Linked DNA regions of Homo sapiens: regions 1, 2 and 4 are each linked to region 3. Evidence: promoter capture Hi-C in 16 types of primary human blood cells and fetal thymus (Javierre and others, 2016). All regions are on one chromosome and are shown on one strand. Each heading gives the region's core, a stretch centred on a gene start or on the middle of the fragment in contact. The rest is flanking DNA. Distances are from core to core; before and after follow the strand shown.

The links. The method cuts DNA at HindIII sites, captures the fragments that hold promoters and counts their contacts. A CHiCAGO score of 5 or more calls a contact.
Region 1: a contact is called between the fragment with the promoter of RBM3 here and the fragment with the promoter of TIMM17B in region 3, in 5 of 17 cell types (neutrophils, total B cells, fetal thymus and 2 more). The highest score is 9.5, in neutrophils.
Region 2: a fragment that was not itself captured here is called in contact with the fragment with the promoter of TIMM17B in region 3 in 1 of 17 cell types (activated CD4 T cells); the score reaches 5.8 in activated CD4 T cells.
Region 4: the fragment with the promoter of EBP here is called in contact with the fragment with the promoter of TIMM17B in region 3 in 1 of 17 cell types (neutrophils); the score reaches 7.4 in neutrophils.

Annotation. Positions count from the first base shown.
Region 1 is chrX:48,570,490-48,577,337 of GRCh38, forward strand. It overlaps RBM3 (RNA binding motif protein 3), which reads left to right and starts at 3,995. Exons shown (of 7, transcript NM_006743.5): 1 at 3,995-4,084; 2 at 4,679-4,794; 3 at 5,072-5,178; 4 at 5,825-5,930; 5 at 6,019-6,115; 6 at 6,537-6,620. The coding sequence starts at 4,692. The coding sequence ends at 6,597. RefSeq lists a cis regulatory region at 3,128-4,113 and enhancers at 3,870-5,069, 4,053-4,322. The HindIII fragment of the contact is 13,325 bases long and covers 1-6,848 here.
Region 2 is chrX:48,548,356-48,554,557 of GRCh38, forward strand. All of the region lies in intron 3 of TBC1D25 (TBC1 domain family member 25), which reads left to right. Among named protein-coding and RNA genes, the nearest start is that of TBC1D25, 12 kb to the left of the region's middle. The HindIII fragment of the contact is 254 bases long and covers 2,017-2,270 here.
Region 3 is chrX:48,896,506-48,902,404 of GRCh38, forward strand. TIMM17B (translocase of inner mitochondrial membrane 17B) reads right to left here and starts at 1,263. Exons shown (of 6, transcript NM_001395498.1): 1 at 1,219-1,263; 2 at 254-353. The coding sequence starts at 1,244. PQBP1 (polyglutamine binding protein 1) reads left to right here and starts at 1,425. Exons shown (of 7, transcript NM_001032382.2): 1 at 1,425-1,577; 2 at 1,987-2,071; 3 at 4,685-4,796; 4 at 5,425-5,537; 5 at 5,728-5,899. The coding sequence starts at 2,005. RefSeq lists enhancers at 779-928, 959-1,158, 1,449-1,818, 1,869-2,088. The HindIII fragment of the contact is 9,862 bases long and covers 1-5,899 here.
Region 4 is chrX:48,520,558-48,523,357 of GRCh38, forward strand. It overlaps EBP (EBP cholestenol delta-isomerase), which reads left to right and starts at 1,251. Exons shown (of 5, transcript NM_006579.3): 1 at 1,251-1,350. PORCN (porcupine O-acyltransferase) reads left to right here. Exons shown (of 15, transcript NM_203475.3): 15 at 1-251. RefSeq lists silencers at 92-151, 1,066-1,295, 1,356-1,535. The HindIII fragment of the contact is 9,622 bases long and covers 1-2,065 here.

The sequences.
Region 1 (6,848 bases), core at 2,745-5,244, 320 kb before region 3:
GACCAACATAGACAAACCCCGTCTCTGCTAAAAATACAAAATTAGCCGAGCATAATGGTGGGTGCCTGTAGTTCCAGCTACCCAGGAGGCTGAAGCAGGAGAATTGCTTGAACCCGGGAGGCGGAGGTTGCAGTGAGCCGAGATTGCACCATTTTACTCCAGCCTGGGCAACAAGAGCGAAACTCCATCTCAAAAAAAAAGACGTTATTTCTCCCAAAATGTAAAAATTCAATGCACTCTCAATAACACTTCCATTACTTTTTTTTTTAATGTTTTGAAACAGGGTCTCACTTTGTTGCCCAGGCTGGAGTGCAGTGGCACGATCATAGCTCACTGCAGACTCCAACTCCTGGGTTCAAGCGATCCTCCTGCCTCAGCCTCCCAGGTAGCTGGGATTTGGGCGAGAGCCACCATGCCTGACCTCATTACTTCTTTTTGTTAGAACTGCAATACACTTACATTAGAATTTAGAATAGTAATGAATCATGGACAGTTAAGACAGCCTTCAAAGAAAGCGTTATGATGGGGATTTGCCCACTAGATATTAAGACATATTAAAGGTGTTAGTAATAAAAGGGAAAAAAAAAACAACAACAAACCTATATTGGCCCAAGAGCTAAGAAGTAGACCAATTAGAAGAGAAGGCCGGGCACGGTGGCTCACACCTGTAATACCAGCACTTTTGGAGGCCGAGGTGGGCAGATCACAAGGTCAGGAGATCCAGACCACGGTGAAACCCCGCCTCTACTAAAAAATACAAAAAAAAAAAATTGGCTGGGTGCGGTAGCAGGCGCCTGTAGTCCCAGCTACTCGGGAGGCTGAGGCGTGAACCTGGAAGGCAGAGCTTACAGTGAGCCGAGATCGCGCCACTGCACTCCAGCCTGAGCGACAGAGCGAGACTCCGTCTCAAAAAAAAAGACCATCCTGGCCAACATGGTGAAACCCCATCTCTACTAAAAATACAAAAATTAGCTGGGCGTGGTTGCACGCGCCTGTAGTCCCAGCTACTCAGGAGGCTGAGGCAGGAAAATCACTTGAACCCAGGAGGCGGAGGTTGCAGTGAGCCAAGATCGCGCCACTGCACTCCAGCCTGGCGACAGAGTGAGACTCTGTCAAAAAAAAAAAAAAAGCTCAGAAGTCAGGTACAATAGTGCTCCCCTGTAATCCCAGTTACTCAGGAGGCTGAGTTGGGGAGAATGCTTGAGGCCAGGAGTCAGCCTGGGCTCATCTCTTAAAAACAACAATAACAACAAAACCAGCAACAAACCACCTCAGAGACAGACCCATATATCTATGGAACTTGATACATGATAGAGGTGGTAAAACACACACAGGGATGGGACAGATTGCTTAATAGATGGTGATGGGGCATCTGGCTCATGACACAGAGAAAAATAAAATTGGAGCTCTATCTCACACCATATACAAGGACGAACTCTACATGGATTAAAGACCTAAATGTGGCCGGGTGCGGTGGCTCATGCCTGTAATCCCAGCACTTTGGGAGGCCGAGGCAGGCGAATCACTTGAGGCCAGGAGTTCAAGACCAGCCTGGCCAACATGGCAAAAACCTGTCTCTACTAAAAATGCAAAAATTAGCCAGGTGTGGTGGCACACACCTGTAATCCTAGCTACGCAGCAGGCTGAGGCAGGAGAATTGCTTGAACCCAGGAGGCGGAGGTTGCAGTGAGCCGAGATAGTGCCATTGCACTCCAGCCTGGGCAACAAGAGCGAAACTCTGTCAAAAAAAAAAAAAAAGAAAGAAAGAAAGAAACTGTAGGGGAACATTTTGTGACCTGGGAAAGAGAATGATTTCTTTAAAAGCACAGACCAGGCCGGGCGTGGTGGCTCACGCCTGTAATCCCAGCACTTTGGGAGGCCGAGGCAGGCGGATCATGAAGTCAGGAGTTTGAGAACAGCCTGAACAACATGGTGAAACCTCATCTCTACTAAAAATACAAAAATTAGCTGGGCATAGTGGCACATGCCCGTAATCCCAGCTACTCAGGAGACTAAAGCAGGAGAATCACTTGAACCTGGGAGGCGGAGGTTGCAGTGAGCTGAGATCATGCCACTGCACTCCAGCCTGAGCGACAGAGTGAGACTCCGTCTCAGAAAAAAGCACAGAACATAGGGGGAAAAATGATTATATCAAAATTATGGATCTTTATTCAACTAAGTTTACTGCTTACAAAGTTAATAACACAAATGCCAGAGCTGGAGAGGCTATTTCCAACACCTAAGGGATTAATAATTAGACTATGTGAGGAATCCCTGACAATAACAGGAAGATAAATATGGGAATTACCCCAACAGGAATATGGATGTACTGTATTCTGTATGTTAGCAAATTTGGTCTGTGTTGGGCAAATTCATTCTATGGATAAGAAATTTAGCCTCTGAGGGCAAACTAACTTATTCTTCGTTGATGTGGCGCTCAGAAGTGAAAAATCTGTCAAATCCATTTATTGTAAAGGTGGCCAAGACACTGAAGACTAAATTGTGAACAGTGGGCTCAGACACTACTTGATTGGGATAAGTCTATTGTGTATTGCGAAAGTCCCTTCTGTGAATCAAGGGCTCAGTTACTTTTTTTTTTTTTTTGAGACTGAGTCTTGCTCTGTCGCCCAAGCTGGAGTGCAGTGGCATGATCTCAGCTCACTGCAACCTCCACCTCCCGGGTTCAAGCGATTATCCCGCCTCAGCCTCCTGAGTAGCTGGGACTACAGGTGCCTACCACCACGCCCGGCTAATTTTTTTTTTTTTTTGTATTGTTAGTAGAGACAGGGTTTCACCATATTGGCCAGGGTAGTCTTGAACTCCTGACCTTGTGATCTGCCCACTTCGGCCTCCCAAAGTGCTGGGATTACAGGCATGAGCCACTGCGCCCGGCAAGGGCTCAGTTACTTTCGAAGAGAGCAAAAATTGCTCTATGGATTGGGATTTACAACCTCTGAAGATCGTAGCATCCTCTTTTGTTTTGTTTTGTTTTCACCCAGGCTGGAGTGCAATGGCGTGGTCTCGGCTCACTGCAACCTCCGCCTCCCGGGTTCAAGCGATTTTCCAGCCTCAGCCTCCCGAGTAGGTGGGACTACAGGCACGTGCCACCACACCCAGCTAATTTTTTTTTTCTTTTTTTTTTTTTTTTTTTTTTTTTGTATTTTTAGTAGAGATGGGGTTTCACCATGTTGGCCATGCAGGTCTCGAACTCCTGAACTCGTGAACCGCCCGCTTTGGCCTCCCAAAGTGCTGGGAATACAGGCGTGAGCCACCGCGCCCGGCCAGCATCCTGTTTTGTAAAAGCCATCTCAGGCAGTCTATTGGTGAGAAAATTAAGGGGCTGGCTTCACGCCAGCAGTCAGACAAGGGTGAGGGCTGAAGTCAGAGATGAGATGGAATGACGCCAGGGAAAAGGGTCCCATGACAGGCGGCTAGATGTTGAGCACAGAGGAGAAAGAGTAGGAGTCAGGGTCAAACCTTAAAACGTTGGGTCTGACATCATGGACTGTGAAGGGTGATGACATCAGTGACGGTGGGGGATAAAATGTCAGGCCTTTAAAGGGTATGAGGTTAAAGAACTAGAAGGTGAAGGAGGTTAACATCAGAGAATGGCAGGGACCTAGAGGAAGACGACTACGATGGTGAGGAAGACATCCGATCCAGCGGGGGAAATGATGGCAAGGACGGGAGGATGATGTCAGGGACAGCAAGTAGTATGAGATTGAGAAGGTTCCTTTGTGGAAGGGATAAAGGCAGCTCAGCCGGTTGTGGGGGGGATGCTGACGTTTAGGGTGCACCAGCTGTTCAAAAGTCGACCCCATTTCCGGAAACACCCCATTTCCGGAAACACCCCATTTCGCGGAGAACACTGCTCCCTTCGCTTTGCTGTCCCTTCCTCTCCCCACCACTCCGCTCCTGCTGGCCTCAGCCAATCAGCACGCACGCCGGGACGCGCAAGGGGAACGTTCCGGGACGTTCTCGCTACGTACTCTTTATCAATCGTCTTCCGGCGCAGCCCCGTCCCTGTTTTTTGTGCTCCTCCGAGCTCGCTGTTCGTCCGGGTTTTTTACGTTTTAATTTCCAGGTAAGTTGCATATGTCCTGCGAAACGGCGGCTCCTCGCCACACACGCGCCGCGCCGGCCGTGACCGGGGAATAGCGAGTGGGGAGAGTAATGGCCACTGACACGTAGGCTTGGCTTTCTCTGGGACGGGCGGGTCCCGTGCTTGGAGGTGAAACATTTCGGTTGGTGGGAGGCCGGCGCGCTGTATCTGAGTGTGAGGCCTACCGGGAGGGACTGGTGGCGTCGGTGGTGGCAGTGACCACGCGACAGCCGACACTTACTTTCCTTATCCCACGTGGCCGCCGCCATCTTGTTCTGCCGGCGTTAAGGGAACGCAGGGATGTTCTGGGCTTGCGCAGTGGCACAAAATGACGGGCGTGGCGGCTATGAATGTGAGAGCATGCGCAATGTGGCCCCCTAATGGTGGCTGCGCTGAGCCAGCTCCTCAGATTACCACCTTATTGGCCGCCTTTCTCAGCTTTTCTGTAGTTACCCATATTTTGTTCCTCTTTCTTGTCTATTTTCTGTGCTTTTTCTCTGCTTTCCGTCTCGCTATTTTCTCACATCTCCATTTTCTTTCTCCTTCCTGCCACCATTCTTCATGTTCTTCCCACAGGACTTGAACTGCCATGTCCTCTGAAGAAGGAAAGCTCTTCGTGGGAGGGCTCAACTTTAACACCGACGAGCAGGCACTGGAAGACCACTTCAGCAGTTTCGGACCTATCTCTGAGGGTGAGACGGGCCATACTCACAATGGGGGTTGGTGAGAGAAAGTCTGGGATCCTTGCATTTCAAGGAGTATTAACTGAAAAGTTAGGACCCACGCCTCCAAATTCTTTTTCTTCCTAAGCCTATGGTGTAGACTAAGGATGAGGGGAAGCGTCTTTGGGATTAGTGGGAGCGCTCCGTTTTCCCTACCTATGCCATCTCCTTTTCCGGCCACCCTTTGCTACTTAACCTTTGGGGTACTGACTGGTCCACATTGCTCCATCTTCTCTCCCTCTCACAGTGGTCGTTGTCAAGGACCGGGAGACTCAGCGGTCCAGGGGTTTTGGTTTCATCACCTTCACCAACCCAGAGCATGCTTCAGTTGCCATGAGAGCCATGAACGGAGAGGTGGGGCCTCCTATCTGCAGAGGGACCTTGTCCCCATCTGCGGCTTCCTTCATTCTTTTTGTTTTTCCCTCTGTGTCTGCTCGGGGCAGCGTGGCCACCAAGCCCCGCAGTGCCCACTCACAGGAGCATGACTGCCTTTTGTTCTAGGGGGTGGAGGGCAGCGGCAGACAGAGCCTGGCCGCCTGGGAGGCGACGACTGGTCCTGCATGAGGCCGAGAAGCCACCTGTGGATGGTTGACCTGCCTTGGGCTTAGGTAGTAGAGTCTGCAGACCTGTGGGCCTGGCCCGGAGAGGACCTCGTGAGTCTTCTGACATGGACTCTGAAGCCTCAAACCAAGAGAGGTGTCTGTCTAGCCCTGATAGTCGGGCAGCTTAGAGGAGTGGGGAGGAGAACTCAGCCTGAGTTCAGTCAAGATGTAAGTAGTAGCAAGGGGAACATGGTGCATTCAGGTCATTTTGTGTGGGATTCTATAGCTCCTGATGAAGCCATTCTGGGGTAAAGGAGCTTATTCTGGAACATGGCACCCAGAACCTGGTGCCCAGCAGGAATTTTTGGCCTCTTTTGCCCACTTACCCTTGCCTGCTCTTCCCTCACCATTGCCCTGACTGACTGCCAACCCATCATCCTTGTGTCTCCCACACTTAGTCTCTGGATGGTCGTCAGATCCGTGTGGATCATGCAGGCAAGTCTGCTCGGGGAACCAGAGGAGGTGGCTTTGGGGCCCATGGGCGTGGTCGCAGCTACTCTAGAGGTGAGTGCAGTGATCGTTTTGATCATGGGGTGAGAGGGAGAGTTGCCTATGTGTGGACAACTGCCATTTAAATATTTTTCTGCTCTAGGTGGTGGGGACCAGGGCTATGGGAGTGGCAGGTATTATGACAGTCGACCTGGAGGGTATGGATATGGATATGGACGTTCCAGAGACTATAATGGCAGGTGGGTAGCCAAAGGGCTGGGATGTTCTCCTATTGCTTCCCTCTCCTTAAGAACTCAGCGCCTGGGTGTTCATGCATACCACACCTTGCTGTTACTAATGTGTACCTAAAATGAGTATGAAATTTAGCATTTTAAGTTAATTGTGTAGTCATATAGTTGCGACATGGTAAAGTATACTATATATGTTGTGCTGTGTGGGTTATATAACTATATTGCTTTAACATGTAATATGATTTAATATACTGCGTATAAATCGTATGCCATAAAACTGTTTACTGTGATACTCATATGCTTAACATATCCTGTTTTTGATACGTAAGGTTTATGTTATGACCCATACTGTAAAATGTGACGCATATAATTACAGTGGTATATATAATGCAGTACCAGAAAACTTTTGTGTGTTTTTTTTCCCCCCCAGAAACCAGGGTGGTTATGACCGCTACTCAGGAGGAAATTACAGAGACAATTATGACAACTGAAATGAGACATGCACATAATATAGGTGAGACTTGGATATCGGCATTGAGTGAACCTGTTTGTCACACTCTGTCATGACCCTCTCACCTTTTCTGGCAAGACTGCTCTGCATTTCTGCTGCCCTCATACCTCACCCAGCCAACCTACCAAACATTCCTAGCTAGGCCTTCCTTGCTCTCAGGTGCATATCAGAGCAAGTTTGCTAGGGGGTGGGATCTGAAAACCCATCTCCTATAATCTTCTACTCTTGTGT
Region 2 (6,202 bases), core at 894-3,393, 350 kb before region 3:
TCTGCCCGCCTCAGCCTCCCAAAGTGCTGGGATTACAAGCAAGAGCCACCGCACCCAGCCTTAATCATTATAGTTTTATGATATGTTTTCATGTTTTCCTTTTTAAAAAATTTTCTTGAATATTCTTGTTCACTTACTGTTCTTTTTATTTAATAAATCAGCTTATTATTCCATTAAAATCCTGACGGGAATTTGATTGGAGTCATATTTTTAAGAGAAACTAATCTTTCATTACCCAGTAAATACATTCTTATTAAAAATAAAAGCATTTTAAATAATGCTGAAGTCTCCTGGGAACGCTATGCCTAATCTCAATCCCCTACCCTACCCTTTTTGCCCCGAGGGAATCGGTTTGATGTGTAACTTTGCATGTCCTTTACTTATTTACACTCCCTACACACACATTTATCCACATATGTGAGTATATTCATATTTGCGTGTCTGTACACATAAACGGTATGTGTTTAACATAAGGTATTCTACACATTAATATGTAAGTGTCCAATATATGGAGCTATCATTAGACATATTAATGGCATTCTCATGATCATTTTCATGGCTGTGAAAGCAACAGACATGTTGGGACTGTTTGGATGGCCCAGTCCCTCTTTCTGGGAAAAAGCCAGTTTCTGTCACCTCTACAGTTGGGAGATTACAAAGCCTAGACCTTTGACCAATTTGTACTTTTCCGATATGAATCTTTTTTCTTTTTGAGACTCTCTTTGTCACCAAGGCTGGAATGCAGTGACGCAAATATGGCCCACTGCAGCCTTGACCTCAAGCTCTCCTCCTGCCTCAGGCTTTCAAGTAGCTGGGACTACAGGTGTGCACCACCATGCCCAGCTAATTTTTGTATTTTTTGTAGAGACATGGTTTTGCCATGTTGGCCAGGCTGGTCTCGAACTTCTGACCTCAAGTGATCCACCCACCTCGGCCTCTCAAAGTGTTTGGATTACAGGCGGGAGCCACCGTGCCCAGCCCCCAACCTCCTTTCTATCATAGGTACTGCAAATATTTTTCCCAGTTGATCTTTTGTTTTTTGGCTTTGCTTACGGGATGGATCTGTTTTGTCCTATCAAAATTAAACATTTGATTGCACGCCTACACAGATATCTATCTTTTTCTTTATGATTTCTGAGTTTCTCCTTTTTATTGCAGGTGGAGGGACAGAGTTTCACTCTCATTGCCCAGGCTGGAGTGCGATGGCGCGATCTCGGCTCACTGCAACCTCCGCCTCCTGGGTTCAAGTGATTCTCCTGCCTCAGCCTCCCAAGTAGCTGGGATTACAGGCATGTGCCACTACACCTGGCTACTTTTGTATTTTTAGTAGAGATGGAGTTTCACCATGTTGGTCAGGCTGGTATCGAATTCCTGATCTCAAGTGATCCACCTGCCTGGGCCTCCCAAAGTGGTGGGATTACAGGCATGAGCCACTGTGCCTGGCTGAGTTTCTCCTATTACTTTGGAACATGTTCCCCATCCATAAGCTTATACAAATATTCTATATTTTCTTCTACTATGCTTATTGTTTTCTTTTTTACATATAAATCTTTTCTCTGTCAGCATTGTGATAAGCAGACCTAGCTTTAAAAAAATCAAGATAGTCAATTATGCCAGCATCATTTTTTTTAATTTAATTTTTTTTTTTGAGACGAAGTTTTACTCTTATCGCCCAGGCAGGAGTGCAGTTGCACAATCTCAGCTCACTGCAGCCGCCGTCTCCTGGGTTCAAGCAATTCTCCTGACTCAGCCTCCCAAATAGCTGGGATTACAGGTGCCCGCCACCATGCCTAGCTAATTTTTGTATTTTTAGTAGAGATGAGGTTTTGCCATGTTGGCCAGGTTGGTGTCGAACTTATGACCTCAGGTGATCCACCCACTTCAGCCTCCCAAAGTGCTGAGATTACAGGCATGAGCCACTGCGCCCGGCCTGCCAGCATCATTTATTAAATAATCACCTTTTCTGCAGTGATTCGAAATGCCACGTTTGTCACATATTCAGTTTCCATATATACAAGCTTGGATTTATTTCTGGGCTTTCTATTGCATTCTACCAATGGGCTCTATTTGTCTACTGCTGTGCTAACACCATGTTATTTTTATGACAGTGGTTTTGTGGTCAAATTTTTTTTTTTTTTTGAGATGGAGTCTCGCTCTGTCGCCCAGGCTGGAGTGCAGTGGCGCAATCTCAACTCACTGCAAGCTCCGCCTCCCGGGTTCACGCCATTCTCCTGCCTCAGCCTCCCTAGTAGCTGGGACTACAGGCGATAAGCTTTTGCCATCCTCCCACTGTTCTTTGTCTTAACTTTTTTTTTTTTTTTGGAGATGGAGTCTTGCTCTGTCGCCCAGGCTGGAGTGCAGTGGCACAATCTTGGCTCACTGCAAGCTCCACCTCCTGGGTTCACGCCATTCTCCTGCCTCAGTCTCCCAAGTAGCTGGGACCACAGGCGCTCGCCACCACGCCCGGCTAATGTTTTGTATTTTTAGTAGAGGCAGGGTTTCACCGTGTTAGCTAGGATGATCTCGATCTCCTGACCTCGTGATCCACCCACCTCGGCCTCCCAAAGTGCTGAGATTACAGGCATGAGCCACCGCGCCCAGCCTGTCTTAGCTATTCTTAAATGTGAATTCTTCTATAGAAACCTTAAGATAATTTTATCCGGTTCCAGGAAAAACCCCCATTCAATTTCTGACTGGCATTGCACTGAGTTTATATATTAATTTAGGGTTTGGGAAGTTTGACAATTTTATGATAAGGAAATGCGCGTATCATGAATATTATGTAATACCACAAGCAGGGTCTGGGCCAGCAGCCAAGCAGCCCACAATGAAACACTTGGATGTTTCTTCAGGGAAATGTGTGCATATTCACACTACGTGGGTTATATAAAGACTATATATAGTCTCCTGTCAGTTCAGATCAGGTTTTGCTACTAGGTGAGTTTGTGTTTGTAGACATTCTTTGCCTGTTTTTTGTTTGTTTGTTTGTTTGTTTTTTTGAGACACTCTGTTGCCAGGCTGGAGTGCAGTGGCACAATTCCGGCTCACTGCAACCTCTGCCTCCCAGGTTCAAGCGATTCTCCTGCCTCAGCCTCTTGAGTAGCTGAGATTACAGGCACGCGCCACCACGCCCAGCTAATTTTTGTATTTTTAGTAGAGACGGGGTTTCACCATGTTGGCCAGGACGGTCTCGATCTCTTGACCTTGTGATCCGCCCGCCTTGCTTCTCAAAGTGCTGGGATTACAGGTGTGAGCCACTGCGCCCGGCCTTTTTTTTCCTTTTTTTGAGAGGGAGTCTCACATTGTTGCCCAGGCTGGAGTGCAGTGGCGCGATCTCAGCTCACTGTAACCCCTGCCTCCCAGGTTCAAGCGATTCTCCTTACCTCAGCCTCCCAAGCAGCTGGGATTACAGGCACCTGCCACCACACCTGGCTAATTTTTTTTTGTATTTTTTAGTAGAGATGGGGTTTCACCATGTTGGCCAGGCTGGTCTCAACCTTGTGATCCGCCCACCTCAGCCTCCCAAAGTGCTGGGATTACAGACGTGAGCCACCGCGCCTGGCCTCTGCCTGTTTTATTAGTGGGATTGAGGGGGTGGTTTTTTTAATCAGTATAAAATGTCTCTTTGTGTTAAATGCTTTTGGCCTTGAGTGATGCTTTTTCTGACATTCTCATGGCTACTATTTTTTTCTGTTTGTGTTTACCAGATATACCTTTAGGATTCTTTAATTTTTAACCTTTTTGTGTCACCTAGTTTTAGGTATGTCTCTCATACCTCTCGTAAAAACGTCATAGCAGAATTTATGCTTTTTAAGGCAACTGACAGTGAAATCTTTTTTTTTTCTTTTTGACACGTAGTCTCGCTCTGTCGCCCAGACTGGAGTGCAGTGGCACGATCTCAGCTCGCTGCAACCTCTGCATCCTGGGTTCAAGCAATTCTCCTCCCTCAGCCTCCCGAGTAGCTGGGATTACAGGCACACACCATCATGCCCGGCTAATTTTTTTTTTTTTTTTTTTGAGATGGAGTTTCGCTCTGTCGCCCAGACTGGAGTGCAGTGGCACAATCTTGGCTCGCTGCAACCTCTGCATCCTGGGTTCAAGCAATTCTCCCTCAGCCTCCCGAGTAGCTGGGATTACAGGCGCTCACCATCACACCTGGCTAATTTTTTGTATTTTTAGTAGAGACGGGGTTTCACCGTGTTAGCCAGGATGGTCTCGATCTCCTGACCTCATGATCTGCCTGCCTCGGCCTCCCAAAGTGCTGGGATTATAGTCGTGAGTCACTGCACCCCGCCCCAACAGTGAAATCTTTAGGCCACTTTTTCTCCTTTAATCTCTCCCACTTTTTCTGGCCTTTAAAATGGAGCTTTGGAACACTTGTAATTCTTATTCGTTTTCTGGTCCCTAACCCTTAACTTCTAGCTTTTGCTTAGACAACTTTTTTTTTTTTTTGAGATGGAGTCTTGCTCTGTTGCCCAGGCTGGAGTGCTATGGCACAATCTCAGCTTACCGCAACCTCCTCTTCCCAGGTTCAAGCAATTCTCCTGCCTCAGCCTCTTGAGTAGCTGGGGTAACAGAAGCGCACCACCACACCCGGCTAGTTTTTTTATATTTGGTAGAGATGGGGTTTCACCATGTTGGCCAGGCTGGTCTTGAACTCCTGACCTCAAGTGATTTGCCTGCCTCGGCTTCCCAAAGTGCTGGGATTACAGGCATGAGCCACCACACCCAGCCAATTTTTTTTCTTTTTAAATTCCGGGTTATCATTCTGTTTTCTTACTAACACACTAAGTCACTTATGTTTCAGGAATCCTAATGTAACATATAATATTACAAACCCCCAATCATGTTATCGTTGTCATTTTAACTATAAATATTAAATATGTAATATATATAATATAATATATAATATATAAATATTACCATTTACCTTCCCCTTTGTCTCTCCCTATCTTAAGCCCTTCTAGTCATGCAGGAGTCATTTGCTCAGAGAACTTCTTTGTTCTCCTCCAAAAGTGCATGGGTTAGATGTACTCTAATGGCCAAAAATGTTTTTATTTGGCTGAATAGATCTGTACTGTCTTGGCTGGGTGTGGGGCCCTTGGATCTCAGGTCTTTCTTCTTAGTGCTCCATAGGTGCTGTGAGCTACTGTCTTATTGCCTCCAGGGTTGTGAAGCAGAAGTCTGTTGCTTGTCTGACCTTCTTTCCATTGTAAGCAGCCGTTTTTTGTCTCTGGAAGCTGCAAGAGTTTTTCTTTTTCTTTTTTTTTTTTTTTTTTTTTTGAGGCAGGATCTCTATTTCCCAGGCGGGAGTGCAGTGACGTGATCTCAGCTCACTGCAACCTCTGCTTCCCAGGTTCAAGCGATCCTCCCACCCACCTCAGCCTCCCGAGTGGCAGGGACTACAGGTGTGCGCCACCATGCCCAGCTAATTTTTATATTTTTGGGTAGAGACAGGGTTTTATCATGTTCAGCCCAGGCTGGTTTTGAACTCTCGGGCTCAAGCAATCCGCCCGCCTTGGCCTCCCAAAGTGCTGGGATTAGGCTGGGCATGGTGGCTCATGCCTGTAATCCCAGCACTTTGGGAGACCGAGGTAGGCGGATCACTTGAACTCAGGAGTTCGAGACCAGCCTGGCCAACATGGTGAAACCCCGTCTCTACTAAAAATACAAAAATTTGCCAGGTGTTGTGGCGCACACCTGTAGTCCTAGCTACTTGGGAGGCTGAGACAGGAGAATCGCTTGAACCCGGGAGGCGGAGGTTGCAGTGAGCCAAGATCACGCCACTGCGCTCCAGCCTGGGCAACAGAGCAAGACTCTGCCTCAAAAAAAAAAAATTGCTGGGATTACAGGCATGAGCCATTGCGCCCAGTCTAAGAGTTTTTCTTTATTCTTAGAATTTGGGCATTTCGGGCTGGGCGCAGTGGCTCACGCCTGTAATCCCAGCACTTTGGGAAGCTGAGGCAGGCGGATCACTTGAACTCAGGAGTTCAAGACCAGCCTGGCCAATGTGGCAAAACCCTGTCTTTACTAAAAATACAAAAATTAGCAAAAATTAGCCGGGCGTGGTGGTATGCCCCTGGAATCCCAGCTACTTGGGAGGCTGAGGCAGGAGAATGGCTTGAACCCAGGAGGCGGAGGTTGCAGTGAGCCGAGATCATACCATTGTGCTCCAGTCTGGGTGACAGAGCAAGACTCCATC
Region 3 (5,899 bases), core at 13-2,512:
GATGACTCTTTGAACGACACAGCATTTCCACAGAGGAGCTCCAGTTGGGTGGGGTGGAGGGTGGAAGACAGAGGCCATGTTTGCAATCCCTACAAAATCCCAGATACAGGAGCCAGGCTCGGCACATAGTAGGTGAGTGGGCACCAGAATGAATAAGTGCACGTGACTGGCAGCTCCAAGCAGTTTTCAGAGCAGCCTCCCTTGTGGGCAAGATAGCTAACCCCACACCAACCCAGGGAAGGCCTGGACTCACAACAGGGGCATTGCGGAAACCCTTGATGGCCTGGAAGACTCCGCCACCGATGACACCCATAGTGAAGGCTCCACCGCAATCATCCACAATTCGCCATGGGCTGCAAGCAGGAAGGGAAGGACGGGGTTAATGTGAGCCCTCCCCCAGGTCCTGTCACACGAACTCTTTTCTAACTGGGAGAAACCAAGTCACCAGAATGGGAAGTTCCTAAGTAGGAACAAACACTTCAGATAATAATGAGCTAGTTCTGTCACGCTTTTTCCACACACCCCCCCATTAAAGCGAGAAATGGGGCAAAGGGGGAGAAATATTAGTCTTCGCCCTGTCTACCAACCAAGGAATCAGCCAACGGTTTTACTGTGATCAAAGATTAAATGAATTGGCACACGCAGAGTTGACGTTTCAATAAGCGACATAGGCGTGTTAACTAGCCAAGACAGACTGTCAGCAAAGCAGGACCGCGTCGCACCCCTTCTCCGACGGTGAGCCCGTCCAACCATGCCCCGCCCCTTTTCAATCCGGCACAACTGGGAAAAACCAAGAGCGACCGCGGGAAGCATCCACCGTCCCCGCCGGCCCTCAACAGGTTCATCCGTGCCCCGCCCCCCACTGACAAAGGCGACCTGGGAAAAACCACTGGCGGCAACTCTGGGGATTTCCGGTCAACACCGTACCACCCCTAGCCGGGATGGATCGTCCAGCGTGTCTTTTTTCGTTAACAGGGCTAGGAGATTACGAAGTCAGGAGAAACATGGCGTGGTTCGGCCTTCGCCGCACCTTCTCTGGTTGTGGCCCCTCATAACGGAGCCCGAATGACAGGAACCGAGTGGGGGTAGCGGGAGATACGTTAAGAGTCCCCCGAGTCTGGTACATGGCTCTGTGCGGCCGATGCCTCCCCCGCCCGACCCCCACGGCTGGCCTTGGCGTCGCAGCAATATTCCGGATGCCTGTGCCCATTGCCGTACCAGGGCTCCCGAGCGTACTCCTCCATGGCGCTGGCGTCTGGCCGCGCAGTCAGGCCACGCCCCCAGCGTAGACGCACACCGGCGTCGGAGCTTTCCGCCTATTACCGGGCAGCGATTGGGTCGCTATACCGCATGTCACGCCAAGGACGCACTCTCATTGGCCAATCGAGTTTCTGCCATTTGTTCATTGCCTCCTGAGCGTAGTCCAGTTACTTTCAGGCTCGGGGAGTGAAGGCCTCGTTGAGAGAAGGTCTCATTCGGTGTTTTGGGAAGAGAGTCGTGTGGGCCCAGGTATCGTAGCGGCGACACGAGAGAGACGGGCGGTGTGACAGCCTTCCACTACCTGCACGAGTGTATTGGTAACGTTGGGGTGGGTGCACTCTTTTGGAGCTGGAGGAAGTGCTGCCCTCTGCTCCCCCATCCCAGCGCTTTGGTTTCTCCCACCCGGCAGTCATGGGGACGCTGGATGAGCCCATTTCTGAAGTGCGGAGGGGCCGGGCTTCTTAGGCTGTGGGCGGAGCCTGGGCCTGGGAGAGGAACAGGGCCCTGGAGCACCTGGTTTCGGGGACAGTAGGGTTGGTGGGAGTTGCGATGATATTGCCACCTACCTCTTACATCTTTTAGTGCGTATGTTCTGTCCACCCAGCTACTGGTTCATTTGAGTAGATCGGAGTCAGATGAGTACATGTTTACGGGAGGCGCTTGGTTACGGGATCCAGATAGGAATCTTTATCTGAGCTGCTTGTCAGTTTGTTCGTCTGTCCCTAGGTCTGTCTGCTATCAGCTATGCCGCTGCCCGTTGCGCTGCAGACCCGCTTGGCCAAGAGAGGCATCCTCAAACATCTGGAGCCTGGTGAGACAGCTAAAAGCAGATGGTCCTAACACGTGCCAGCCTCGACAGGCACTTTTGTTGTTGATACTGACGCTTGATACCTAGCATGGGCCAACTGTGCACCAAGCAATGGGGTGGCAGGCATTTTTCGTTGTTAACAATGTGGATTCCTGACATCCATCCCTACCGCGTGTCAAGTGGAGGGGGTTGGGGGAATAGATATTTCATTCTTTTTTTTTTTTTTTTTTTTTTTTTTTTTTTTTTTTTTTGAGGCAGAGTCTTATTGTGCACCCAGGCTGGAGTGCAGTGGCGCGATCTCGGCTCACTAAAACCTCCGCCTTCCAGGTTCAAGCGATTCTCCTGCCTTAACTTCCCGAGTAGTTGGGACTACAGGCACGCCCCGCCCCACCACACCTGGCAATTTTTTTTTTTTTTTTTTTGAGACAGAGTCTCGGTCTGTCGCCCAGGCTGGAGTGCTGTGGCGTGATCTCGTCTCACTGCAACCTCCGCCTCCCGGGCTCAAGCGATTTTCCTGTCTCAGCCTCCCAAGTAGCTGGGATTACAGGCACGTGATACCACACCCGGCTGATTTTTGCATTTTTAGTAGAGACGGGTTTCACCATGTTGGCTAGGCTGGCCTCTAACTCCTGACCTCAGGTGATCCACCCCCCACCCTTGGCTTTCCAAAGGGTTGGGATTACAGGCATAAGCCACTGTGCCCGGCAGATATTTCATTCTTAACAATACTGACTGGCTGGGCGTGGCGGCTCAAGCTGGCATTCCCAGCACTTTAGGAGGCTGAGGCGGGTAGATTGCTTGAGTTTAGGGATTAAGAGATTAGCCTGAGCAACATGGCAAAACCCCGTCTTTACAAAAAATACAAAAATTAATCGTGTGTTGTGGTGCATGCCTGTAGTCCCAGCTACTTGGGAGGCTGAGGTGAGAGGATCTCTTGAGCCTAGGATGTCAAGGGTGCAGTGAGCCGAGATTGTGCCACTGCACTCCAGCCTGGCCGACACATGGAGACCCTGTCTGAAAAAAATCCAAAAAAAACAACAAAATAATACTGACCACCTAATGCCTATTTGGGGCCTACTGTATGCCAAGTTAAATCCCATGGATTACTCTATGGGGGTGATGACATAGTATCTAATAGGAAGTACTGCTAACCTCTACTGCTGTCTCCTGTGTGCCAAGCGTAGTTGCAGTGAGGATCTATCATTTAGGCCTACTGTGCTCTGGCTGCAAATCACACCTTATTATCAGTAATACTAAAAACTGGCATCTATTTGGGGCTATAGTGTGCCAGGCACTGGAAAATATATCTTCTCCTTATTGATAACTGACATCTATTACAAGCCTACTGTGTGCAAGGTATAGACCTTGTGGTTAATAAAATTGTCAATGATCCCAGGCCGGGCAGGGTGCCTCATGCCTGTAATCTCAGCGCTTTGGGAGGCGGAGGTGGACGGATCACGAGGTCAGGAGATCGAGACCATTCTGGCTAACAGGGTGAAACCCCATCTCTAATAAAAATACAAAAAACTTAGCCGGGCGTGGTGCCAGATGCCTGTAGTCCCAGCTACTCGGGAGGCTGAGGCAGGAGAATGGTGTGAACCCGGAAGGCGGAGCTTGCAGTGAGCCGAGATCATGCCACTGCACTCCAGCCTGGGCAACAGAGAAAGACTCCATCTCAAAAAAATAAAACTGGCAATGATCATTGATTTACTTTTTTTTTTTTTTTTTTTTTTTTTTTTTGAGAGAGTCTCGCTCTGTCACCTAGGCTGGAGTGCAGTGGTGCAGTCTTGGCCCACTGCAACCTCTGCCTCCCGGGTTCAAGCGATTCTCCTGCCTCAGCCTCCCGAGTAGCTAGGACCACAGGCGTGCTCCACTGTGCCTGGCTAATTTTTGTATTTTTTAGTAGAGATGGGGTTTCACCATGTTGGCCAGGCTGGATTTTCTTTTAAGCCTATTGAATGACCTGTGCCTATGGTATATATATTATTTATTATTTGTTTAGAGACAGGGTCTCACTCTGTTGCCCAGGCTGGAGTGCAGTGGCACGATAATAGCTCACTGCAAGCTCAAAGTCCTGGGCTCAAATGAGCCTCCTGCCTCAGCCTCCTGAGTAGTTGGGACTACAGACGTGTGCCACTGTGCCCAGCTAATTTTTTTTTTTTGTAGAGACAGGGGTCTCACTATGTTGACCAGGCTAGTCTCACAGACGGGTTTTCACCATCTTGGCCAGGCTGGTCTTGAACTCCTGACCTCGTGATCCACCCACTTTGGCCTCCTAAAGTGCTGGGATTACAGGCATGAGCCATCACGCCTGGCCAAGATGAGTAAATTTTTTGATGAATCCCTATCAACTCTGAAACCAGATAGCTTTGGCTAACAGTAGAACTCATCATCTGAACCCAGACACAGATTTAGGTAACCTTTTTTTGTAAACCTCCTAATATAGAGAGTTGGATTTGGAATGTGAAAGATACTTCATATTCTTCCCGGCACACACACACACGTGTCTTTTATGTGTGGCTTGTGTGAATGTGAGTGCGTGTCTCTAGGCTCTACATGTAGGATGAGGTCCCCTGGTCCTTATCTGCTCTCCTCATCCCCACCTTGTTCTACCAGAACCAGAGGAAGAGATCATTGCCGAGGACTATGACGATGATCCTGTGGACTACGAGGCCACCAGGTTGGAGGGCCTACCACCAAGCTGGTACAAGGTGTTCGACCCTTCCTGGTGAGCCTGGGTGAGGGGGAGCTAACTTCTGGCTTCACCCTTCCTGTGCTGACCTTGGTTGTGAGGTTTAGGGGGACACAAGGGAGGGAGCCTCGGGTGGAGGGTGTTGGCATTAGGTATCTGCAGGACTCAAGTTGCTGCCTGCTGGGGCCTGGCTCCTCTGGGGTTGGAAGACTGTCTTTTCTCTCTTTTTTGAAACGGAGTTTCACTCTTGTAGCCCGGGCTGGAGTGCAATGGTGTGATCTCGGCTTATGGCAACCTCCGCCTCGTGGGTTCAAGCGATTCTCCTGTCTCAGCCTCCCAGGTAGCTGGGATTACAGGTGCACACCACCACACCCAGCTAATTTTTGTATTTTTTGTAGAGATGGGGTTTCATCATATTGGTCAGGCTGGTCCCGAACTCCTGACCTCAGGTGATCCGCCTGCCTCGGCCTCCCAAAGTGCTGGGATTACAGGCATGAGCCACCACGCCCAGCTGACAGTGTTTTCTCTTCAGGAGAAGAGATTCTGGGGATCCTGCCTGTGGGGTCCTGACATGGGGCAGGTATAGGCAGAGACTGGGGAGACAAGAGTTGAGGATCCAAGGCAAGGACATCTGTGCTGACACTTCTTTCCTGCGGCCCCACAGCGGGCTCCCTTACTACTGGAATGCAGACACAGACCTTGTATCCTGGCTCTCCCCACATGACCCCAACTCCGTGGTTACCAAATCGGCCAAGAAGCTCAGAAGCAGTAATGCAGGTGAGTTGGCAGGTACAAGCGTGCCTTGAGTGATCTTAGCAGTTCTCACGGAGAGGCCAAGTAGAATGATAGTGGATCAGAGGGGCAGGTGAGACCAGGCGGGCCCAGCCTCAGGCAAGGGAGGTTGTTGAAGGCAGAGGCTGCTGGGTCCTGGGGTGGCAAGAGGTCACTTCAAGACTTGTGTCCCCAGATGCTGAAGAAAAGTTGGACCGGAGCCATGACAAGTCGGACAGGGGCCATGACAAGTCGGACCGCAGCCATGAGAAACTAGACAGGGGCCACGACAAGTCAGACCGGGGCCACGACAAGTCTGACAGGGATCGAGAGCGTGGCTATGACAAGGTAGACAGAGAGAGAGAGCG
Region 4 (2,800 bases), core at 1-2,500, 380 kb before region 3:
TACTCCTTGACCCCCTCCATCCTTGACCCCCAACACCTCAACACACACACACACACACACACACAAAATCACACCATTTTCATGCCTGTCAATCCCCACCCCACCACAAGGCAGGAAGGGGGTGGTGCCTGCTGGGGCCTAGAGGGGGATGCTTGGGGAAACAGAGAAGGGGAGATCCAGGGCCTCCCCGCCTTCCTTCTTCCTTTTTATATACAATTTGTTATTGTCAAATAAAAGTAGGAAATATTCAATAGGCTTCTTCTTCACTGCTCAGAGGGGAATAGGAATGAGTGAGGAAGGGAGCACAGCATGGATAAAGGTTTGGAAGCTGGAAACCATGAAGAGAGAGCAGACTGTGATTGGTTCATGGTTAGTTTATGATTGATTAGATGATGAGCCTGAAGATGGCAGGATCCTGGTCCTGCTTGGTTTGATCAGGGCAGGGACAGATTGCATAGTTGGATGTGGGGGAGGCCTGATTGGCTGGAAAACTGAAGGATCCCCATTCTGATTGGTTGCTCTGAGTGGGACACAGAGGAGAGAAAGCAAGAGAGATGAAGGGTTGGTGCCTATTTATCCTTAGGACTGAGGGTTGTGGGTTCTAATTGGATGGGAGGTCTGGGATGGGTCTGGATTCTGATTGATTGCTCCATCTGGGGGCCCACTGGTGGTTAGGCGTTTGATTGGCTTTTTAGAACTGGCATATGGAGATTGAGGGTCTTCATGCCAATTGGTCAGTAGGACTGAGAGGCCTGGGTTCTAACTAGTTCTTCTGACTTGAGGTCGGGAGAAGAGAGAATGACCGCTGCTATTAGGACTGAGGAGTTCTGAGCACTGAAGAGCTGGGGAGGGGGTGGTTGCAGTGTATAGCGTGTGATCTGCTTGTAACAGTTTCGTTGCATTATACTAAGGGTTACTCTACCTAGAAAAGGGCGGAGGTGAAAGGATGCAACGCAACGCTAATTTCACCAGCGGAAGAAGCGGGTACAGACCTTAATGAGTCCCCGTTTTGATCGACTGATAAGGGAATGGGGAAATTGAAGCCAGGACTCGATGCAGATTGGCTACGGATCCAAAACGCCCACTAACCTTGGCGCGTCCCAGTCTCCACCCCAAACCTAACTCAGGTGAAAATGGCGCCACGCGCGGGGGCGGGGCTAGAGGTACAAAGAGAGTGTCTATTGGTTGGGAGCGGCACGGGCCGCCTTCTTCGCTTCACCATTGGCTCGCTCCGTAAGGCAAGAGAACCCACTAGGGGATGAGCCCGAACTAGGGATGTGACAGAGCGCGAGACCCAGCCTAAAGAGAGCCCGGAGCCAGCGTGGGAGGCCGCTGCCGTCGCGCGCCTTGGTGAGTGCCCTCCACCCGGCCCCTGCTCCCTCCCCCAGCTCTCCCCGGCTACGCGGCCAGCCCTCGGCGTGCCAGCGCGAGACCCTTTGCCACCCGCCCCCCCCACCGCCCTTTTGCGCCTGCGCGAGACCCCCAGCTACCGCACGGTTGTCCAGAGGACAGAAGATCCGTCTTCTCATTGGGCAGCGGGACTGGAGGGTTCTGGTTCGGATTGACCGGCTTTGTGTTCCGTTCTAGCGCTGCACGCCAGACACCGGCCTTTCAATATCCGTCTCTTCCCTGCAGGTTGACGGCGTTGCACGCTCTCGCGGGGAGGCTCTGGCTTTCCAAACGCTGGCACCGAGGGTTGTAGTTCTGATTCGTTTTCTTTCCTCTGTCCCCCAGTTGCAGTTTTCAGGACTACGTGGGGGAGGGAATAGCTTTTTGTTGAACGGTTTAAGACGCTGACCTGTGCAACTGGACCACGCCTGGTTCCTGTGTCTCTTACCAAACCGTGACCCCGGAGCACAGGACTGGGTTTGGTGGTCGTGAGCAGTTTGTGACCCTTGAAGGAAGACACCAGGCCTGGTCCTGTATCTCCCTCGCCAGACTGTGACCAGGGAGGGCTGGGATCAGGTGTTGTTCCCATGTGCCTCCCACCAGACTTTGACCCCCGAGGGCTGAGACCGGGACTGTTTCTACCACATCATAATATGGCTTCTAAAGGGCTGGAACAAGCTTTCAGCCTTTCTGTGGCCTTGTGTTTCAGTCATGTTCTTTTTCTTTTCTTTTTTATTTTATTTTGAGACAGAGTCTCGCTCTGTTGCCCAGGCTGGAGTGCAGTGGCATGACCCCGGCTCACTGCAGCCTCTGCCTCCCAGGTTCAAGCGATTCTCCTGCCTCAGCCTCCTGAGTAGCTGTAACTACAGGCGCACGCCACCACACCTGGCTAATTTTTGTATTTTTAGTAGAGACGGGGTTTTGCCATGTTGGCCGGGCTGGTCTTGAACTCCTGAGCTCAAGTGGTCCACTCGTCTTGGCCTCCCAAAGTGCTGGGATTACAGGCGTGAGCCACCGCGCCCGGCCTTCTTTTTTAGAGGCAGAGTCTCAGACTGGAGGGCAGTGATGTGGTCACTGCTCACTTCAGCCTTGAAGTCCTGGGCTCAAAGCGATCCTCCTGCCTCAGCCTACCTACTAGCTGGGACTACAGGCCTTTGTCACCACACCTGACTGATTTTCTTATTTTTTTAGAGACAGTTTCGCTGTGTTGCCCAGGCCGGACTTGAATTCCTGGCCTCAGGTGCTGCTCCTGCATCAGCCTCCCAAAGCACTGGAATTACCTGCCACGGTGCCTGGCCTTTAGTCATGGTCTTAAAACAGAATGTAGGCCGGGCGCAGTGGCTCACGCCTGTAATCCCAGCACTTTGGGAGGCTGAGGCGGGCGGATCGTGAGGTCAGGAGATCAAGACCA